Linked DNA regions of Homo sapiens: regions 1 and 2 are each linked to region 3. Evidence: promoter capture Hi-C in 16 types of primary human blood cells and fetal thymus (Javierre and others, 2016). All regions are on one chromosome and are shown on one strand. The core of a region is centred on a gene start or on the middle of the fragment in contact, and the rest is flanking DNA. Distances in the headings are between cores, read along the strand shown.

Region 1 (2,851 bases), core at 1-2,500, 2.3 Mb before region 3:
GTCCTGCTGTACTCACCAGTCGATTTGAAATGCGGTATCAAGCCCTGTCACTTGTCATGTCGACTGGAGTGTCCAGGAGAGGAGCGTGGCCTTACTGCATTTTATAGCCTCAGTAGCAAACTTTACCCTGGGAATCACCAAAATTCATCCCATGATGTCTTTTAATAAACAGCTGATTTTACTGTGGGCAGTACACCTAGCTAAGAAATTAGCTCCTTTAATTTTTACATTAATCCTATGAAGTGGTGAATAACTACCCATTTTGTTGATGAGTGACCTGATATTCAGAGAGGTGACTTGCTATGGTTCCTACAGCTGGTAAGTGGGGCATCTGAAGTTTGAGCGGGGACTTGGGGTCTTGATTGCTACATGGTATTGTCCCCCAGCCATTTGTTGGTAGTATGTTAAAAAGCTTTAGGGTTTTGCACATTTGTGTTCAGAACCTTTATTGGATTCCCCTTGACATGTTTTTTAGTTGATTCTCTTGGGTTTGCCTGGGGTCATCAGCAGAGAGATTAGTCAAATGCGTTGTGACATGTACACGTTATCTCTACAGATAGTATGTGAAGAAAATAAGATTGTGAATTACCAGGTTTGTTTTAAATTTTGCTCTGCCATCTTACATGCTAGTGGTGGATGATAAACAACCAAATAGTGCATTAAATATATACAGCAGTGACGAGATGTGCCCTGACATCAGAAATATACAATCTGGGGTGTGTTTCTCTGTGGATGAGGACATGCAATAAAGCAGCTTGGAGTGAGCCGGCCTCTCCCGGGGGCTGAGATCCTGGGGGAAGAAGGGCTTTTTGAGTTTGACCTGACACCCTGCGAGCAGCTTTTGAACCAGCTGAAGCTAATGGGAAGGTGCTATTGCCACCTTGCCTCCGCCTCCCGACTCCTTTTTCCCCCAGAAGGTAATGTCTTAGCACCGGGGCTTCTCTCTGCAAAATGGGTGCAGCCCTCTCAGTGTTCGTGGCTCCTCCCAGAGAATGAAGGAGGCCAGAGCGGGTCAGCACTCTCTCTGCCTTGGAGCAGAGCTTCTGAAATGGACTGCACAGCAGAATAGCCCAAGAAGTTTGTCAGAATCCAGACTTCCAGAGCCCTGCCTAAAACCAAGTCAGAAACCCCGAGTGACACCTGGGAGTCTGCGTTAACTGGCTCCCTGAATGAAGCACCTGCAGCCCGCCCTGCACCAGGTGTCTTTGAGGACATGAGCTGAGGAAACCCCGACCACTTGCAAAGGGGGAAAAGTCCGATGGCAGCTGGACCTAGAAAGAGTCTCATATGGCCCAGTGCCTGTCCTGGTATTTTCAACAGAGGCTGTGGCCACAGTCAATCTGCATGGTCAGATTCATTGTTAGGACTAAATGCTTTAAGCCTCCTATAAACTTTTTTTTTTTTTTTTTGATGCCCAGCCTTTGTGTAAGTCTACTTGAAAGGGTTTCAGGGTTCCATGGATACTTCTTTGCTATAAAGAGGATGACACATGTAAAATCACCTTTATGGTTAAATTAATTGGCTTTTATATTAGCTCCTCAAAGCAAAGCAGGAGAGACAGAAATTTCTGCAGTTGCTTCTTGGTCCTGTCCAAAGCAGACATCAGCCTCTGAACCATCAGCAGTCTTCCTAGTGGCAGTGACTCTCTTCCTCTTCTCTTCTGCAGCCCCGACACGTCTCTGCTACTGGACTGTGGTGAGGGCACATTTGGGCAGCTGTGCCGTCATTACGGAGACCAGGTGGACAGGGTCCTGGGCACCCTGGCTGCTGTGTTTGTGTCCCACCTGCACGCAGATCACCACACGGTGAGTGTTGGGCTGGACCACAAAGCTGGAGCCTGGAGGAGGCACTGCCACGTTGAGTTGGCCCTTTGGCTGCGTCTTTTCCTCCGCTTCCAAACTTGCCCAGAGCTTTTGTTACTCATCTCTGGCTAGGAAATGGTTTTTTGCAAAACTCAACATAGTCCTTCTGCGCCACAAGAATGTCTTCTCTTCCTGTTCAGTTCCTTTCCTGCAGCAGGACAGGTTTGAGTTTACCCAGCCTTCCTTGAGTCTTGAATCTCACACGGCCTGCTCAGCGGAAGCTTTGACCGGATGCAGGAGGTGTGGCTATGAGACCCTCACCTTGGTCTCCTGGGGTGCCGGGCCCTGGGCCGTTGCCCTCTTCCCAGCACGGGTCGTGTCGCTTTCTGCCTGTGACATTTCAGGGCCATGGCGCAGGGGGCTCGGCCTGTGCCACCCCCACTGCGGCTGTGTTAGAGGCTGGTGGGTGACGTCGGGCTGGCAACTCCTGCAAGAGAGAGGGCTGCAGACCCTAACCCGGAGGGGATGGCCCTGGGGCCTGGCTGACGCATGTCTCCTGTTTCCTTGCCAGGGCTTGCCAAGTATCTTGCTGCAGAGAGAACGCGCCTTGGTAAGTGTGGCACTTGATGGGCGTTCTGAGTTTCAGCGGTTTACACATCATCCGCCATGCCTCTTGGCACTCCAGTTTTTATTGAGATGTTCTGTCGTCGAGTCGGCACTTGCATTTTTTGTTCCAGGCATCTTTGGGAAAGCCGCTTCACCCTTTGCTGGTGGTTGCCCCCAACCAGCTCAAAGCCTGGCTCCAGCAGTACCACAACCAGTGCCAGGAGGTCCTGCACCACATCAGGTGAGCATCCAGGGCAGCCTGGCCCGCTGGGCTGTTGCTTGCTGCCGTCTCCTTCAGAAGCTCAAGGTGGACACTGGGGTAGTTACCAATATCCCCCAGCAGCCTTGCCCTTGACATGGTCCCAGATGGCAGAAGCAGGGGAGAAGTGCATTGGCTGAAGGACAGAAACCATTAGATAGTTCCCATGTAATGCTTATTTTCT
Region 2 (4,081 bases), core at 330-2,829, 2.3 Mb before region 3:
ACTGGGTGGCACCACGGTTCCAAGAAATCTTTTTCCAGGAACTTTCATGAATATTCCAGCTCGTGTTAAAGAAATCCATAAAGGTAACAACGCCAAAGTCCCTTCCATGTGACTTTTTTGGGTATGCCCATAAGCTCATTTCTTGAGTGTGTCCTTTTTGCTTTGCAATAAATCTCCATACTTTCACTATTTTCCAACTCATCCTTGAATTCCTTCTCATAATAGTGTCAAGAATCTAGACAGCGGCTGGAGTTGAGGTCCCACTGGCATTTGGTGACCTCCCTCAGCCCACCAGGATCATGATTATTTGCTAGAATGAGTCACAGAACTCAGGAAAATGCTACACTTACTATTCCAGTTTATTATCAGGGAGACCAATGAAGAGCCAGATGAAGGATAGAAGGTCAGGTCAGGAAGGACCCAGGGCTCAGAAGCCTCTGTCCCTGTAGAGCTGGGGTACATCACCCTCCCAGTACATAGATGGGTTCACCAACCAGAGAACTCCCCTAAACCTTGTAGTTCTGTGTTTCATAGAGCGGTTTCATTATGTGGGCATAACTGATTAAATCACTGGTCATTAGTGATTGATCTCAATCTCTAGCCCTTCTCTGCTCTCTTGGAGGTTGGGGATTGCAGCTGAAAAGTCCAACTCTTTAATTGTACAACTAGCCCCTATTCTAAAGCTATCTTATACTTCACCCTACGAGTCATCTTGTTAGCATACAAAAGACACTCCTATAGCTCAGGAAATTCCAAGGGTTTTAGGAGTTCTGTGTCAAGAATCAGTAACAAAGAGAAAACATATTTTATGATAATACCTCAGTTGGACAAGGTAGGAATTAGTGTTATTTTGTGGAAGTTTTGTTCTCAACTGTTCATATATGTGTTTGTGTGTCTTCCTTCCGGATCTTGATATAAAAGATGTTTCTTACTGTGGACTGTGGTAAAAACATTTAAAAATCTGGCAGCTAGACATGCCTGCCTCCAAGACTGCCCTGTAAAGTCTGACATGTTCACTGTTTAAAATTTAAAAAAAAAAAAACTTTAGACAAATTAAATTGACAGAGTTTAATTGAGCAAAGCATGATTCGCAAATTGGGCAGCCCTTTCCTCCCCCAACCAGAATAGGTTCACAGAGACTCAGCGCTGCTGTGTGATCGGAGAGGATTTATGGACAGAAAAAGGAAAGCGATGTACAGAAAATGGAAATGAGGTACAGAAGCAGCTAAATTAGTTACAGCTTAGCCTCTGCCTTGTTTGAACAGGGTTTGAACAGTTGGCTGCCTGTGATTGGCCAAAATTCGGTGATTGGTACAAGAATAGGAGACAACCTGTTTACACATCTGCTTAGGTTCCAGTTCACTATGTAGGGAGCAACTTGGAGACTGAATGTAAAATATATGCAAGGAGACAGCTTTAGGGTAAGCTTAATTTAACGTCACTATGCTGGTGCTTCAGGAGGGCTGGTGGATGACATTTCTCCGATCCTTCAACTCCTCTTTCTGGATCTTCATTCCCCAACTCCTCCTACGATGTATAGGATCTAATTCCTATAATAAATCTTATGTTCCATGTGTTTTCTTAAAAGAAGTTTGTAAAACACCTTTCTGGAGGAGACATTATACAGTATTTGTAATGATTTGTGTCTGTGTGCAAAGACTTGACAAAAACATGTAAAACATAAAAAGAAAGGCCAGACAACAAGTGCCTTTAACGAGCAGGAAAAGCTTCTTATAAGAGGTAACATTGAACTGAGCCTTGAGTGATGAGCAGAGACACCCATGAGACAACAGCTCTCAGAACAACAAATCTGCTTTTCTCTCTCCCACTAAGCGTGATCACTTCACTTCCATCCAAGTCTATTCTGCATTTATCACTTGAAAATTCAGCAAAATATTCATCCAACTAATAAGAAATCAGCCAATTCAGTTGCATGCTTGCATCTGTGTGTTGTTTCCGGTGAAATTGTCCCAAGAAGATGCCCCAAACCCCAGGCACCCAGAGCCTACCTAAGACAGAGGTTAGACCAGGACAACAGAAAACCTATTCCCCAAATTAGAGACTTTAAAAGGTGAAGTTTACTTATTTCTTGTAGGGCAATAAGTGGACTGACCATAAAGAGAGGAGTCCAGATGTCTTATTGGGTTCCCTGGAAACAGATTCTGGAATGAGTTGCATATAGAAAGTTCACTGTGGAAAAGACAGCAGTAAGGAAAGAGGAAAGGCAAGAATAGGCAGAGGGGAAAATTGACCCACAATGTAGCTGCAGCTGACGCCTCAGCCAGTACAACAGGGAGCTCTGCAGTTGGAGTAACTCTTCAGAGATGCCCGCAGTTGAGGTAAGAGGGCTGAGCTTTTGTAATCTCAGGGTAAAGCAGTTCCCTGTAGCCATGGACAATTCTCAACGATGACCATGACTGTGAGCCCTCACAGCTATGAACGATATTCCTAGGAGCTAGGAAACGGGTGTGTGGGCCTTGAAAAGGGCATCTGGTACAGCCCACCATGATCTAACACAATCCTATATTCTGGTTAACTGGCTTTCCAGTTACTGGCCTGGAATGAGTATGAGCTATAAAGACAAATTTTGTCAAGGTTTGATTAAGCCTGTGTGACTGCGTGACTCCTTTGTTGTAAGTACAGAATTTAAAACAGCATTAAGAGGAGAAACAGTCTGATAGGCAGGGGTAGACCCAGTCCTTTGACAAGAGATATTTCCAAGGCCAATACAGAAAGAGGACAGCAGACTTCTAAAATTATCAGATTCAAAAGAGTGTATGAAGAACCATCTGTCATTTTTGGATGGCCAGAGATGATTTTTTCTGGTGATAATATCATCCCTATTTTGCTTTAGGAGGCCATTTCTTTCTCGCCATCAGTCTATAAGGTTAGGATGGGCTGGCCCTTTCCCTTCATTCTATAGGTGGGCAAGGAAACCATCTTGGCAAATAAGAAGTCCCCCTACTTCTGGGATTGTTCAGAGTTGGGCATACAATCCAAACTAGCCAATGAAAGTTAATGAACCTCATCCCCAAGACTTTCATTGGAACATTTGTGAACAAGACCTTCCCTTTCTGCCAGGGATACTAAGATAATGGACCATCTGCCTGGAGCTTCCAATATCCATCTGCTTCCTCCTGGGTAGAGCCCATCTGAGAATTAGACCGACAAAGAGGAGCGTGGGACTCAGAGGTAGAGTGGGACAAATTCCTGGTGATATCTTTTGAACATTGGTGTTGCTATAAAGGAATATCTGAGGCTGAGTAATTTTAAAATAAAGAGGTTTATTTGGCTCATGGTTCTGCAGACTGTATAAGAAGAATGTTTCCAGTATCTGCTTCTGGTGAGGGCCTCAGACTGCTTCCATTTATGCTGAAAGGTGAAAGGGATCCAGTGTGTGCAGAAATCACATGGTGAGAGAGGAACCAAGAGAAGGGTGAGGTGCCAGTCTCTTGTTATCAACCAGCTCTTGAAAGAACCAGTTGAGCAAGAACTCACTCACTACCACCAGGATGGCACCAAGCCATTCATGAGGGACATGCCCCCATGACCCAAACACCTCTTACCAGGCCCCATCTCCAACACTGGAGATCAAATTTCAATATGAGGTTAGGAGGGTCAACTTCCAAACTATAGCAAGTGCCTAGATATAGTCATCACTGAAGATTCCCTACCATGTCTGCCTCTGGCCTTTACACTTCATTGAGCTAGTAACTGTTCTTTTTTGCTGAAGCCCGTAAGTTGTTCTTTTCATTCTGAAAAGAGTTCAAACCAATGCCACATGACACCTGAAAGGGAGCAGATGGTCTTACGAGCTCCTCTCCCAACCTCTCCAGTCTAATCCATCCAAGCTTTTCACCCTTCATATGCACAATCGTCCTACTCCTCAGGGTGAACTGGGGGTGAGGGAAGAGTCTGCAGTTTCATCAACAAGCCAATAGTGACCTGGGAAGCATTTATGGAAAAGTGAAGATTTGAATGTGGATTTTAAAAACAGTCAGAGTAGGCTAGGCACAGTGGCTCACGCTTATAATCCTAGTACTTTGGGAGGCCAAGGCGGGTGGATCACCTGAGGTCAGGA
Region 3 (4,306 bases), core at 1,035-3,534:
CGCAAGCCTGTAATCCTAGCACTTTGGGAGGCCGAGGCGGGCAGATCACGATGTCAGGAAATCGAGACCGTCCTAGCTAACATGGTGAAACACTGTCTCTACTAAAAATATATATATTTTTTAAATTAGACAGGCCTGGTGGCACGCACCTCTAGTCCCAGCTACACGGGAGGATGAGGCAAGAGAATCGCTTGAACCCAGGAGGCGGAGGTTGCAGTGAGCTGAGATCGCACCACTGCACACTCCAGCTTGGGCGACAGAGGGAGACTTTGTCTCAAAAAAAAAAAAAAAAAAAAAAGAAAGAAAAGAAAAATATCTAACTTGGAAAACAAAACATAAACCTCATTTGGTGACTTTGGTGGTTTCACAGCAGTAATAAAAGTGATAAGGTCTATAAGGGATAACACTGTAGGCGCCTTCTGGCACTAAAGTTTCATGGGTCCTTGCCATCAGGCTCAGGTGTTACTAGCAATTCATCCAAAATGCAGTTATAAAACACCTACTTTGAGCCAGGAACTATATTTTATATTTATTTTATTTATTTTTTAGAGGCAGAGTCTTGCTTTGTTGCCCAGACTGGAAGGCAGTGGCCCGATCACAGCTCACTGCAGCTTCAAACTCCTAGGCTCCAGTGACCCACTCACCTCAGCCTCCCAAAGTGATGGGATTACAGGCGTGAGCCACCACATCTGGCCCCAAGAACTGTTTTCAATGATAGCATTTTATTTAATATTATAAAATTAATATGAAGAAGTTGCTACTAAAAGAAGCACTTTAGCAAATAAAATTTAATAGATCAGGTAGAAACACTGACTTCAATCTTAATTTGGGTGGCTGATCAGGTAACCTACAATTGGGCAATCAGAGATGAACAATAATTTTGTATGCTATCTGCCTGACTACACAAGGTACTTTTATGTCTTTTTGTCAATTACAAGAAAAAATTATCCCTGGGCAAACAAATACACAAAGATAAAAGAGCAAAAATCCTACCCACAGGCAACTATAAGATAGAAAAAAATAGTTTGATTAACGACTTGAAGTGCTGAACAAACATTTAAGAACTTTGGCAGAAATTTCTGAAAATTCTAGTCCAACCGCGAATCAAGAAACACAGGTAACACTATGTTCCGTTACTGGGTTAGAGAACAGAACAGTTGGCTAGTTTGGCTAACTCATAGAAAACAAGCAAACCAACCATGCTCTGGTCCAACAATCATCAGAGCACGAGTTTCTCCTACTCAGAGTCGGTCCCATGGGGGAAAAAAAAGCCACACAGGAGCGGGATCTGTAGTTAAGGAAGATAATTAGAGGACGATTTTCCTTTTTTTATTTCTCTGTATTTTGTAAAGCAACCACCGAGGTAGGGGCGGGGAGGGAGTGGTTAATATTGCGGATATTAAGATATAAATAAAGGCAGATGAAATGAAGTTAGACTTTCACAAAGAACGAAAAACCTACGAATGCTCTTGGCCTCATTAACAAGGAACATAAGCAGTTCCAGATGAGGAACCCATAACAAACTTCAAATAACGAAACTGTAGGGAGCAAGGGAGTCCGTGAGAGTATTTTAAGAAACTGGGACCCAGGAAGACTAAGTTAACGGATGGGATATCATGCTGTCTATATTTCTTTACACACTGCTATGCTTTATTAATTAGGTTACATTATAATGTTAAATAACTAGAAGCGCTGGGCATTTAAAGTTCTTCCAGACCGCCCTAACCACTCAAATTATCCTAATTAGCAATTTTTTTTAAGTTAAAGACTATTTCAATCGCAATGGGTCGGTTTCTATTTCAAAGATGTAAAGGAGTCAACATTCTGGCACTTCCTCTTGGCCGGCAGGACGAGGTTGACAAAGTCGGCCAGACAAGGTAGGGTTATGGGGGCTGCCCAGTCCCGTGGGTCTCTAGGCAGTGTGTTCTCTCTTCCGAGGTGGGGGTGTCCCCGGCGCGAGGAGCTAGCTGTGGTCACCGAAGCCCACGACCAAAGCGGGGGCCCCCAGCGCTTGGGGCCGCCTTGCCTCGGCCCAGCCGCGCACCTGGACCCCTAAGGCAGCCCCCTTCCCGGCGCTCCGCTGTCCCGCGGCCCCGCAGCACCGCCCAGCCCGCGCCAGACCCGCCTCCAGCCGCAGGGAACTACCTACCGTGCGCCGGCCCCTGGGCTGAAAGGCCTCTGACTACGGGCTATGTAACAGCGCCACCAACGAGCGGGACGGACAGAGCGACTCCTTCCGACTTCCGGAGGAAGCGGAACGCTACCGGAAATCGCGGGGAGGGTCAAAGGAGACCCGGTCTCCGAGGCTCATGGCGATGCTGGTCCTAGTACCCGGACGAGTTATGCGGCCTCTGGGTGGCCAACTTTGGCGCTTCTTGCCTCGCGGACTCGAGTTTTGGGGCCCAGCCGAGGGGACTGCGAGAGTCTTGCTGAGGCAGTTCTGCGCGCGGCAAGCGGAGGCGTGGCGTGCCTCGGGGCGCCCTGGCTATTGCCTGGGAACCCGGCCCCTCAGCACTGCGAGGCCGCCACCCCCGTGGTCGCAGAAGGGCCCCGGAGACTCCACGCGCCCCTCGAAGCCCGGGGTGAGTGCACACCTGGAACCCTTCTGGTGCTCGTCGCGGCTGTCGGCCAGCCCAGCGGCCACATCCCACTTGGTCGTAACCTCAGACACTACTCCGCCTCCCCTAAAGTTGTCCTTAGCTTGCGCGCCTTACCTGGGTCATGGAATTTCATCCTACATTTCCCGTGCCTTGCGGGTAGTCCCAGTTCTCCACAGAGAACTTGAGACTTTACACCCTCTCCACGTGGCTGGATGCCCCGACTTGGATTTTATGTTAGCGTTTCCATCAAAAAAAAAAAAAAAATTAAGTTTCAGGTTTTCTTAAGGGTATGAACCTAAAGTTTACCGTGATTGAGAAGTCAGAGGACTTTTATAATTTGTCACTTGAGCCCCATCCAGAGTTCCATGTATACGTTGAAATTGAAACAAAAAGTGGAACTTAGTTATGTGTGGATCTGCCTTTTTCTTGGGGTTCTCTCGAGTTCTAATTCTGACCCAGAAATAACTTGAGAGCCACTACCCTGTGGTAAGAGAAGTGGGTTTTTGGAGCTACGGGAAGGTTAATGAGTTAGGCCTAGTCTAGTTGGCCAACATCATCTTCATTTGGGGAGTTGAATAAGGGTACAAAGAAATAATGGGTGTAATTTGCAAGAAGCTCCACTTTTAGATTCCTCTTCTACTTTGGCATTGTTACTTCTGGAAGCCAGAGTTAAGTTAACCTCCCAAATTTCGTTTGGTCTATTTATCTCAGTATCAGCATAAGCAGATAATTGTTTTTTGTGTGTGTGTTTTTGGATTTTGGTTTTTGTTTTGAGACGGAGTTTTGCTCTTTTGCCCAGGCTGGAGTGCAGTGGCCCTATCTCGGCCCACTGCAACGTCCGCCTCCCGGGTTCAAGCGATTCTCCTGCCTCAGCCTCCCGTGTAGCTGGGTTTAGAGGGGTCCGCTACCACGCCCGGCTAATTTTTGTATTTTCAGTGGAGATGGGGTTTCACCATGTTGGCCATGCTGGTCTCAAACTCCCGACCTCAGGTGATCCACCCGCCTCCGCCTCCCAAAGTGCTGGGATTACAGGCGTGACCCACCGCGCCCGGCCATAATTGGTTTTAAAGTCATTACTGGAGCTAGGGTCACACATAGTAACAATCGTGGTACTTGAGCTTTTTTTTTTTTTTTTTTTTTTTTTTATTTACATGAAGAGAACTGACTTAGGGAACTTTCCCCTGGAGATGAATGCCTTTGTAGTTCAGATCCCAGACCTAACTGCATCCACAGAAACTTTGAGCATTTTCTCATCCCTGAAACATTTTGCACATTTAACATCATGGCCTGTGTGTATGTATATTAAAAACTACTTTAATAAGTTTGTATGGTTAAATGTTTGCATCTTACTAGAATTTTTATGTTTGAAATCCCTGCCCCAGTAGCCTGTTTCCTGGAAGTCTTTAGCAATCACATTTGCTATTGGAGGAGCTTTACTGGCTGGAATGAAGCACGTCAAGAAAGAAAAGGCAGAGAGTAAGTAGATTATCATCTGCTCAGCCCTGTATAAAGGTCTTCCTGGCTATGGACTAGCACCTTTTTTGTTGTTTTTTAGCTTTTTGTTTTGAAACAACTTTAGATTTACCAAAAAATTGCAAAGATAGCATAGGTTCTACATACCTTTCACCCAGCTTCCCCTAATATTAACATCTTGTATAACCATGACACATTTTTCATGACTAAGAAATTTTAAATGGCACACAACT

The links. The method cuts DNA at HindIII sites, captures the fragments that hold promoters and counts their contacts. A CHiCAGO score of 5 or more calls a contact.
Region 1: a contact is called between a fragment that was not itself captured here and the fragment with the promoter of SCO1 in region 3, in 1 of 17 cell types (neutrophils). The highest score is 5.9, in neutrophils.
Region 2: a fragment that was not itself captured here is called in contact with the fragment with the promoter of SCO1 in region 3 in 1 of 17 cell types (neutrophils); the score reaches 8.1 in neutrophils.

The regions. Positions count from the first base shown.
Region 1 is chr17:12,995,501-12,998,351 of GRCh38, reverse strand. It overlaps ELAC2 (elaC ribonuclease Z 2), which reads left to right. Exons shown (of 24, transcript NM_018127.7): 17 at 1,667-1,805; 18 at 2,374-2,412; 19 at 2,540-2,649. Among named protein-coding and RNA genes, the nearest start is that of ELAC2, 21 kb to the left of the region's middle. The HindIII fragment of the contact is 1,671 bases long and covers 415-2,085 here.
Region 2 is chr17:13,038,154-13,042,234 of GRCh38, reverse strand. No RefSeq gene overlaps it. Among named protein-coding and RNA genes, the nearest start is that of ELAC2, 22 kb to the right of the region's middle. The HindIII fragment of the contact is 301 bases long and covers 1,429-1,729 here.
Region 3 is chr17:10,695,511-10,699,816 of GRCh38, reverse strand. It overlaps SCO1 (synthesis of cytochrome C oxidase 1), which reads left to right and starts at 2,284. Exons shown (of 6, transcript NM_004589.4): 1 at 2,284-2,582; 2 at 3,986-4,076. The coding sequence starts at 2,310. It overlaps ADPRM (ADP-ribose/CDP-alcohol diphosphatase, manganese dependent), which reads right to left and starts at 2,223. Exons shown (of 4, transcript NM_020233.5): 1 at 2,150-2,223. RefSeq lists a silencer at 1,856-2,185 and enhancers at 2,306-2,355, 2,071-2,365, 1,659-2,483, 2,484-3,307. The HindIII fragment of the contact is 16,251 bases long and covers 1-4,306 here.